3 separate regions of the Homo sapiens genome follow, and all the other regions are linked to region 1. Evidence: promoter capture Hi-C in human tissues and cell types (Jung and others, 2019). All regions are on one chromosome and are shown on one strand. The core of a region is centred on a gene start or on the middle of the fragment in contact, and the rest is flanking DNA. Distances in the headings are between cores, read along the strand shown.

Region 1 (3,201 bases), core at 12-2,511:
TTGACATACATCAGACTATTTGATTAATAAAGCAGAAAAGATGGTTAATCTTTTTTTATAGAAGAAGAAACTGATGCTCAGAGAGGCTATAAATGATGTTCCTGAGGCACAGAGTTTGTAAGTAGAGGAGCCTGGACCAGAACCCAGGTGTGTCTGACTCCAGGAATGCTCATACTGTAAACCACTACATTCTTCTTACTTATGGCAGACATTTTCAAACTTGAGTATGCGTCAGAATCATCTAGAAGGCTTGTTAGAGAGACCCACCTCCACAGTTTCTGATCAGGTGGGACTGGGAACTAGCATGTTTCCAGTTGATACTGCTGCTGCTATTGCTGTCAGACTAGGGGACAAACTCGAGAACCACTCATCTATAAGGTTATTGGGAGGTTTAGAGTTCCATTTATGTCTAAGAATCTATCATTAATAGCTCCATGTACATACATGCAGAGAACTATGCTTGCACATGCAAGAATGTTCACTGGCACATTGACAGTGATAATCTCCAGAGGGTAAGATTTTGATAATTTTTCACCTTCTTTCTTACCCTTTTGTGTATTCTAATATGCATTTTTATACAGGGCATCCTACTGGCTGCTTAAAAATCTTGGAAACTGCTGCCTACCATCCCCATTTCCAGCAGATTATCTTAGCTATAACTGCACTTCATCTCCCCACTTCCATTTGCAGATTCCAAGCTTCCACAGAGAAAGTGGTCCAGGAAGGAGCCTTTTCTGACAAGTGCATCTAACTTGGCTAAGTCCCTCACTCTCAAATTCTGGCTCTGATCTCCTTTTCCCAACCTCTCCTTGCCTGCCACCAGCCCCACCCCAGACATTGAAGGCCCCTTTTCCTGCTTTACTTATTTCATTTTCTATAGCACTTTGATCATCTATCATTTGTATTAGGTATTGTATGTCTCTCTCCCATTAGCATCTTAATTTCACAAAGGCAGGGTCTCAGGCTCTTTGCTTTAACCTCAGCACCTAGGACAGTGCCTGGCACATAACTATGTGCCCAACATATGTCTGATGAAGTGAATTGAACTGAATTGACTCTCAATCCGGTAAGGTAAGAAATGGGCTCTGTTTGTGCTGCATCACCTCCCCCACCACCCCGCCCCCCAGCCTGATTCCCAGTCTATTCTTTGAGATCCCACATTTCATACCAACCTCGTGCTAGTTCTGATCGAAGCTCTAGGCAGAGAGTGAGAATCAGGAGAAACGAGAGAGAGGCCTGAAGCTGCATGGTGCCACTCAGCCAGTGGCTCAGCCTGGGGTTGCCATTTTAGGGAGAAAAGGGACCAAGGGGAGGAGCCTGGCCCCACATCCAGCTCATTCACCTTTAACTCAGGCTTTTCATGGGGCTGGGCTGCCTCAGGAACAGAGTGTTCAGCCAAAGCACAGCTTCACCTCTCTCCTCCTGGCCTTATCTGATCTGGCCACCCAGGCTACTTTAGTACCACTTCAGGGTGGAAGCCTTTTTCACAATAATAAAAAGACAGCAGCCATTTTTGAGTACCTTTCCTTTTCCAGGCACCATGCAAAATAGTTTTCACACATTGCTTCCCTTAAGTCTACACGGGAATCCCACAACACTAACACTCCCATTTTGTAGATGAGAGGAGGTTATGCTACTTTGACCATTGTTACATGGACAGCAAGTTTCAGAGACAAGACTGAGACCCCGGTCTGTCTGCTTCAGTGCCCTCGTATCACTCATTCATTCAACAAACATTCATCAAGTACCCACACTGCACCAGGCAAAGTATTAGATGCTGCCTCCATCCCATCTGGGTGCTCCCAGGAAATTATGGCAACAACACACACAAACACATTGGAAGTCAGAAACAGTCACCTACTTGGAGGAGGAGCAGATTCATTATATTTTAATAGAAATATCAAAAGCACCATGTAGAAGGAGGGCCCAGCTTTGTTTGCTTCAGAGGGTCATGGTCTCTAGAGACACACCCCCAGAATCCAGCACATTCCAACTGTCTCCTTTCCTTGACTCTCTAGAGATCCATTTTTTTTGAAAGACAAAGCCAGCATGCTTTAGGGAGATTTAGTGAGCCTCAGATTTAAAATTTGAGGTTGTGATGGGTCCAGCTATTCTTTTTCAAGAAGCATTCTATCATATATTTATTATTATTTATTTTTAATTGAGAAATAAAAATTGTATAAAGGCAGTCCCCAATTTACAATGGTTTGACTTACAGTGTTTGACTTTATGATGGTGCAAACACAATGCACAGTCAGTAAAAACAGTACTTGGAATACCCATACAACCATTCTGTGTTCACTTTTAGAACAGTATTCAATAAATTACATTAGATATTCAACACTTCATTATAAAAGGGGCTTTGTGTTAGATGATTTTGCCCAACTGTAGACTAGTATAAGTGTTCTGAGCAAGTTTAAGGTAGGTAAGGCTAAGCTATGATGTTTGGTAGGTTAGGTGTATTAAATGCATTTCAACTTCTGATATCTTCAACTTAGGCTAGGTTTATTAGGCTATAATCTCATCATAAGTTGAGAAACATTATATATTTATGAGGTACAATATGATGTTTTGAAATATATGTGTGTATATATATATAGAGAGAGAGAGAAATTTTCTCTCTTAGCAATTTTCAAGTGTACAATATGTTATTAACTACGGTCACCATGCTGTGCAATAGGTCTTTACAACTTATTCCGTCTGTCTAACTGAAATTTTGTACCCTTTGACCAGCACCTTCCCAATACTTCCCACCCCCAGCCCCGGGTATCCACCATTCTACTCTCTGCTTCTGTGACTTCAACTTTTTTAGATTCCACATGTAAGTGAGATCACCTGGTATTTGTCTTTCTGTCCCTGGCTTATTTCACGTAACCTGCAGGTTCATCCACGTTGTCACAAATGGTAGGATTTCCTTCTTTTTAAAGGCTGAGTAGTATTCCATTGTGTATACATACCACATTTTCTTTATCCATCCAGTGACGGACACTTGGGTTGATTTAAGTCCAGCTACTCTTGACCTGGGCAAGTCATTTAACGTCTTCCAGCCTCAGTTTTCTCATCTATAAATTGGGGTTAATTATGTTGCTTTAGCATACTTCCCAGAATTGGTGCAAGTGTTCAATAAATATTCAAATGCCTCACACATTGTGAATGCACACACAGGTATATGTCTTTTGCAAGGGATGCGTGTGTGTGTGT
Region 2 (3,644 bases), core at 1,083-3,582, 39 kb before region 1:
GCTGTGGGTTTGTCATAAATAGCTCTTGTTACTTTGAGATACCTTCCATCAATACCTAGTTTATTGAGTGTTTTAGCATGAAGGGTGTTGAATTTTATCAAAGGCCTTTTCTGCATCTATTGAGATAATCATGTGGTTTTTGTCATTGATTTTGCTTATGTGATGGATTACGTTTATTGATTTGTGTATGTTGAACCAGCCTTGCATCCCAGGGACAAAGCCAACTTGATCATGGTGGATAAGCTTTTTGATGTGCTGCTGGATTTGGTTTGCCAGCATTTTATTAAGGATTTTCGCACTGATGTTCATCAGGGATATTAACCTGAAATTTTTTTGTTATTGTGTCTCTGCCAGGTTTTAGTATCAGGATGATGCTGGCCTCATAAAATGAATTAGGGAGGAGGCTCTCTTTTTCTATTGTTTGGAATAGTTTCAGAAGGAATGGTACCAGCAACTCCTCTTTGTACCTCTGGTGGAATTCGGCTGTGAATCTGTCTGGTCCCAGACTTTTTTTGGTTGGTAGGCTATTAATTACTGCCTCAATTTTGGAACTTGTTATTGGTCGATTCAGGGATTCGACTTCTTCCTGGTTTAGACTTGGGAGGGTGTATGTGTCCAGGAATTTATCCATTTCTTCTAGGTTTTCTAGTTTATTTGCGTAGAGGTGTTTATAGTATTCTCTGATGGTAGATTGTATTTCTGTGGGATCAGTGGTGATATCCCCTTTGTCATTTTTTATTGTGTCTATTTGATTCTTCTCTCTTTTCTTTATTAGTATGGCTAGCAGTCAGACTATTTTGTTGATGTTTTTCAAAAACCCAGCTTGTGAATTCATTGATTTTTTTTGAAGGGTTTTTCATGTCTCTATCTCCTTTAGTTCTCTCTGATCTTAGTTATTTCTTGTCTTCTGCTAGCTTTTGAATTTGTTTGTTCTTGCTTTTCTAGTTCTTTTAATTGTGATGTTAGGGTGTCAATTTTGGATCTTTCCTGCTTTCCCTTGTGGGCATTTAGTGCTATAAATTTCCTTCTAAGCACTGCTTTAGCTGTGTCTCAGAGATTCTGGTATGTTATGTCTTTGTTCTCATTGGTTTCAAAGAACTTATTTATTTCTGCCTTGATTTTGTTATTTACCTAGTAGTCATTCAGGAGCAGGTTGTTCAGTTTCCATGTAAGGTTATGCGGTCTTGAGTGAGTTTCTTAATCCTGAATTCTAATTTGATGGCACTGTGGTCTGAGAGACTGTTAGGATTTCCGTTCTTTTGCATTTGCTAATTAGTGTTTTACTTCCAATTATGTGGTCAGTTTTAGAATAAGTGTGATGTGGTGCTGAGGAGAATGTATATTCTGTTGATTTGGGGTGGAGAGTTCTGTAGATGTCTATTAGGTCTGCTTGGTCCAGAGCTGAGTTCAAGTCTTGGATATCTTTGTTAATTTTCCGTCTCATTGATCTGTCTAATATTGACAGTGGGGGTTAAAGTTTCCCACTATTATTATGTCGGAGTCTAAGTCTCTTTGTAGGTCTCTAAGAACTTGCTTTATGAATCAGGGTGCTCCTGTATTAGGTGCATATATATTTAGCATAATTAGCTCTTCTTGTTGCATTGATCCCTTTACCATTGTGTAATGCCCTTCTTTGTCTCTTTTGATCTTTGTTGGTTTAAAGTCTGTTTTATCAGAGAATAGAATTGCAACCCCTGATTTTTTTTTGCTTTCCATTTGCTTGGTAAATATTCCTCTATCCCTTTATTTTGAGCCTATGTGTCTTTGCACTTGAGATGGGTCTCCTGAATACAGCACACCAATGGGTCTTGACTCTTTATCCAATTTGCCAGTCTTTGTCTTTTAACTGGGGCATTTAGCCTGTTTACATTTAAGGTTAATATTGTTATGTGTGAGTTTGATCCTGTCATTATGATGCTAGCTGGTTATTTTGTCTATTAGTTGATGCAGTTTCTTCATAGTGTCGATGGTCTTTACAATTTGGTATGTTTTTGCAGTTGCTGATTCCAGTTGTTCCTTTCTATGTTTAGTGCTCCTTTCAGGAGACCTTGTAAGGCAGGCCTGTTGATGAGAAAAATCCCTCAGCATTTGTTTGTCTATAAAGGATTTTATTTCTCCTTCATGTATGAAGCTTACTTTGGCTGGATATGAAATTCTGGGTTGAAAATTCTTTAAGAATATTGAATATTGGCCCCCACTGTCTTCTGGTTTGCAGGGTTTCTGCAGAGAGATCTGCAGTTAGTCTGAAGGGCCTCCCATAGTGGGTAACCCAACCTTTCTCTCTGGGTGCCCTTAACATTTTTTTCTTCATTTCAACCTTGGTGAATCTGATGATTATGTGTCTTGGGGTTATTCTTCTCAAGGAGTATCTTTGAGGTGTTCTCTGTATTTCCTGAATTTGAATGTTGGCCTTTCTTGCTAGGTTGGGGAAGTTCTCCTGTATAATATCCTGAACAGTGTTTTCCAACTTGGTTCCATTCTCCCCATCACTTTCAGGTACATCAATCAAACATAGGTTTGGTCTTTTCACATAGTCCCATATTTTTTGGAGGCTTTGTTCATTCATTCCTTTTCATTATTTTTTCTCTAATCTCATCTTCATTCTTTATTTCATTAAATTGATCTTCAATCTCTGATATCCTTCTTCTGCTTGATCAATTCGGCTATTGATACTTGTATAGGCTTCATGACGTTCTCGTGCTGTGTTTTTCAGCTCCATCAGGTCATTTATGTTCTTCTCTAAACTGGTTAATCTAGTTAGCAATTCCTATAACCTTTTTTCAAGGTTCTTACCTTTCTTGCATTGGGGTTAGAACATGCTCCTTTAGCTTGGAGGAGTTTGTTATTACCCACCTTCTGAAGCCTACTTCTGTCAATTTGTCAAACTCATTCTCCGTCCAGTTTTGTTCCCTTGCTGGCGAGGAATTGTGATCCTTTGGAGAAGAGGTGTTCTGGTTTTTGGAATTTTCAGCCTTTTTGTGCTGGTTTCTCCCCATCTTCGTGGATTTATCTACCTTTGGTCTTTGATGTTGATGATCTTTGGATGGGCCTTCTGAGTGGACGTCCTTTTTGTTGATGTTGATGCTATTCCTTTCTGTTAGTTTTCCTTCTAACAATCAGGCCCCTCAGCTGCAGGTCTGTTGGCGTTTGCTGGAGGTCCACTCCAGACCCTGTTTGCCTGGCTATCACCAGCAGAGGCTGCAGAACAGCAAAGATTGCTGCCTGTTCCTTCCTCTAGAAGCTTTGTCCCAGAGGGGCACCCGCCAGATGCCAGCCAGAGCTCTCCTGTATGAGGTGTCTGTCAGCCCCTGCTGGAAGGTGTCTCCCAGTCAGGAGACACGGAAATCAGGGACTCACTTGAGGAGGCAGTCTGACCCTTAGCAGAGCTCAAATGCTGTGCTGGGAGATCTGCTGCTCTCTTCAGAACCGGCAGGCAGGCTGAAGCCACATCCACAGCTGCCCCTTCCCCCAGGTGCTCTGTCCCAGGGAGATGGGAGTTTTACCTATAAGCCCCTGACTAGGGCTGCTGCCTTTTTTTCAGAGATGCCCTGCCCAGAGAGGAGGAATCTAGAGAGGCAGTCTGGCTACAGCGGCTTTGCCGAGCTGTGTTGGGCTCTGCCCAGTTTGAACTTCCTGGTGGCTTT
Region 3 (3,510 bases), core at 652-3,151, 64 kb after region 1:
AATATATATTACATAAGGTGTCTTTTTTTTTTTTTGAGATGGAGTCTCACTCTGTCGCCAGGCTAGAGTACAGTAGTGCGATCTCGGCTCGCTGCAACCTCCGCCTTCTGGGTTCAAGTGATTCTCCTGCCTCAGACTCCCGAGTAGCTGGGATTACAGGCACCCACCACCACGTCCTGCTAATTTTTTGTATTTTTAGTAGAGATGAGGTTTCACTGTGTTGGCCAGGATGGTCTCAATCTCCTGACCTAGTGATCCGCCTGCCTCAGCCTCCCAAAGTGCTGGGATTACAGGCATGAGCCACCGCGCCTGGCCTATATACATGTTTAAAAAATAAAGACAGGGCCAGCACGGTGGCTCATGCCTGTAATCCCAGCACTTTGGGAGGCTGAGGCAGGCAGATCACCTGTGGTCAGGAGTTCAAGACTAGCCTGGCCAACACGGTGAAACCCTGTCTCTACTAAAAATACAAAAATTAGCCTGGAGTGGTGGTGCACACCTGTAGTCCCAGCTACTCAGGAGGCTAAGGCAGGAGGATCCCTTGAACCCAGAAGGTGGAGGTTGCAGAGAGCCGAGATCACACCACTATGCTCCAGCCTGGGGGACAGAGAGAGATTCCCTCTCAAACAAAACAAAAAAAATAAAAATAAAAATAAATAAATAAATAAAGTATGTAGAGTTTTATTTAATAATTAACCACACAGATTAAAAAATAGAAAGTAGCCAGCTTCCCAGAAGTCTTCTGTGTGCACCTTCTAATTACCATCTCTGTCATGTGTCTTCAGACAGAAGCACATATAAAAACAAGGTTATGTATTGATCAAATGATGAAAATGTGTGGTCAGAGGCTTGCATTTTCCCTAGGAGCAATGGCTCAGTATTTGCTAATCCGGTGTTCACAGTGACTTTACAGAACATAACTACCCCCAAGTAATGGGAATCAACTGTATTTTTATTACTTTGGTGTACAAAGAACTTTGAGCTCTCCATGGCTTGCCACAACAAAAGACTTCCTAGGCAAATTGTCTACTGCTTTGTTCCAAGTGGGGGCTCTACTTGAGGCTGTGGGACCAAGACAAAAGAAGCAGCCTCTATGTGGATTAGGCCCCTTCTCCTGGCAGAGAGAAAGCACAAAGGAGCTGGCAGAAACTCACAGTGCAAAACTCACTATGCATATGCTACATCTGCTCATACTCCAATAGGCAAAGCACAGCTGACAGCAAACCCAAAGTCAATGAGACAGAAATGTGTCTTCCTTCCACGGGCCGTTCTAAAATTGCAAGGTAATGGACAGGAGTGTCCTCTTAAAGGAAAGATGGAATGAATAGTTGTGAATAATAATATAACCCATCACTACTACTCCTGTTTTAATTTTTTGAAAATGTTTAGATACATATTATATGCTTGTTTAATTTAAAATATCAAACTTTACCTTGCTCAGGCTCTGCCCCTCCACACTGGGCCACTCAAAGATGCCCAACTTACCCTACTTGGGCTCCAACAGCCATATCAGGTTGCATTCGAGACCAGCCTGGCCAACATGGTGAAACCCCGTCTCTACTAAAAATGCAAAACTTAGCCGAGCGTGGTGGCGCACACCTGTAGTCCCAGCTACTAGGGAGGCTAAGGCAGGAGAATCGCTGGATGCATTGATGCCCTCTTCACCCTGCTTAGGCTCTGATTCCTGACACAAGACAGCTCTGTTCTGTGGAACCCCTCCTCACTATGCTTGGCCCAACTCCCCACAGCCGACCACTCTAACTTCTATGTATCCTCCTCATCTCCTTGGGCTCAGACCCTCCATGTCTGGCTACCCACCCCCATAGACACCCTCCTCACCCTCCTTCAGTTCGGACAGTCCACATCAGGCCTCTTCCCTATGGAGACAGCTTCCTCACTTTGCTCCAGCTCTAAGGCTCCTCCCTCATCTGCTCCCCTGCCTGGACACTCTGCTCACCCCACTCAGGCTCTCATTCTATGCCAGTCTGCCCCTCTAGCCCCAGGGGGATGCCTTTCTCAACATGGGCAGGCTGGTCTCCATGCTATGCTGCTTCTTGCCTCTTCACTGGGCATTCTCATCTACCCCTGGCTCCAGCACACCAGGCCAGCAGCCCTCCTACAGAGACACCCTCCTTGACCTGTTCCAGCTCTGATGCCCACACGGAGCCAGCCGTGGCTCCCTTCCCCTTGGGGCAAACGCCTACCTTGCTAAATGTGCCTATCTAATGGCTTTAGGACTGACTAGTTCAGTTAGTAAAGAAAAGGAGACAAAACAAGGAAGAGCTACTTTTCCTTTTTGTAAAAATATGTATTGTGAAAAACACCACAAAAATAAAAATATGCATGAAACATTAATGTTCAGTCTAACGAACTATTACGAAGTGACCACTCATTAAACTATCACTGAAATCAAGTAAAAAATTTCCAACACTTTCTGCTCCTTTTTCATTCTTTTCCAGTCACAACCCCTTCCTATGCTCTCAAAGGCAGCTAATGGTAGTGACTTTCTTTTTCATATTTTCAAGATCATATGTATTCCCCTAAATATGTTTTTGTTTTTGTCTGCTTCTGTTCTATATCAATGGAGTCACTTGGAATGTATTCTTTTGTGCCTGGCTTTTTGTGTTCAACATTATATTAATGAATTCCATCCACATTGTTTTGTGTAGCTGTATTTTGTCAATTTTCATTGCCATGCCATCTATTGTATGACTACACACATCTCTACTGAGTTGTTTATAGTTTGCAGCTGTTAAGAATAAAGCTGCTGTGTGTATACATAGCATGTATGTAATAACGTTCTGCACGTGTATCCCAGAACTTAAAGTATAATAAAAAACTAGGATTTTCTAAATAAAAATGTTATTTATATCAACATGTAATAAGTTTATTACGTTAAATGAATTAATAAATGTTTTTAAATGTCAAAAAAATTTTAAACAATTTACTCATGTAAAAAAAAGAATAAAGCTGCTATGAACACTCTGTGTGCATTTGCTGGAGCACGTGGGCAGGTGTTCTTGTAGGTTATACATTCAGCATAGGGAATGATGGGTTACAGGGTATGCATATCTTCAGCTTCTCAAGCTGATACCAAATTATTTCCCAAAGAGTTTGTACCAATTCACAGCCTTGCCATTGGTAGTTGAGAGTTCCTATTGTTCCATAACCATGCTGTATGTAGAACTGTCACAATCTTTTCATTTTTACCATCCTGCTACGAGTATGGAAATACATCACTGTGGACTTAATTTAAATTTCTTGACTACTAATGAGGTTGAGCACCTTTTTAGATCTTTATTAACCACTTGGCTATCCTCTCTTTGATTTTCTTTTCAAATGTTTTGCTCATTGTTCTCTGGGGTTTTCTGACTTTTTCTTGCTGATTTCTACTGGAGTCATGTCTTTCCTCAGTTATATGTATTATGAACATCTTCCAGGATCAAGGGTAATCTTCTAAAACCCTTATTGGCTTGTCTTTTACCTTTTGAATGAAAGTTTTTATCACGT

The links. The method cuts DNA at HindIII sites, captures the fragments that hold promoters and counts their contacts. A contact is called where the count stands out against the background at its distance.
Region 2: a contact is called between a fragment that was not itself captured here and the fragment with the promoter of SPINT3 in region 1, in 3 of the 25 tissues and cell types used here (adrenal gland, heart right ventricle and liver).
Region 3: a contact is called between the fragment with the promoter of WFDC8 here and the fragment with the promoter of SPINT3 in region 1, in 9 of the 25 tissues and cell types used here (adrenal gland, bladder, heart left ventricle and 6 more).

What each region holds. Positions count from the first base shown.
Region 1 is chr20:45,514,361-45,517,561 of GRCh38, forward strand. It overlaps SPINT3 (serine peptidase inhibitor, Kunitz type 3), which reads right to left and starts at 1,262. Exons shown (of 2, transcript NM_006652.2): 1 at 1,173-1,262. The coding sequence starts at 1,248. All of the region lies in intron 1 of LOC107987282 (a long non-coding RNA gene), which reads left to right. The HindIII fragment of the contact is 13,872 bases long and covers 1-3,201 here.
Region 2 is chr20:45,474,306-45,477,949 of GRCh38, forward strand. All of the region lies in intron 2 of WFDC2 (WAP four-disulfide core domain 2), which reads left to right. Among named protein-coding and RNA genes, the nearest start is that of WFDC2, 6.4 kb to the left of the region's middle. The HindIII fragment of the contact is 2,290 bases long and covers 1,188-3,477 here.
Region 3 is chr20:45,577,383-45,580,892 of GRCh38, forward strand. It overlaps WFDC8 (WAP four-disulfide core domain 8), which reads right to left and starts at 1,902. Exons shown (of 6, transcript NM_130896.3): 1 at 1,840-1,902. The coding sequence starts at 1,865. RefSeq lists an enhancer at 717-1,652. The HindIII fragment of the contact is 18,093 bases long and covers 1-3,510 here.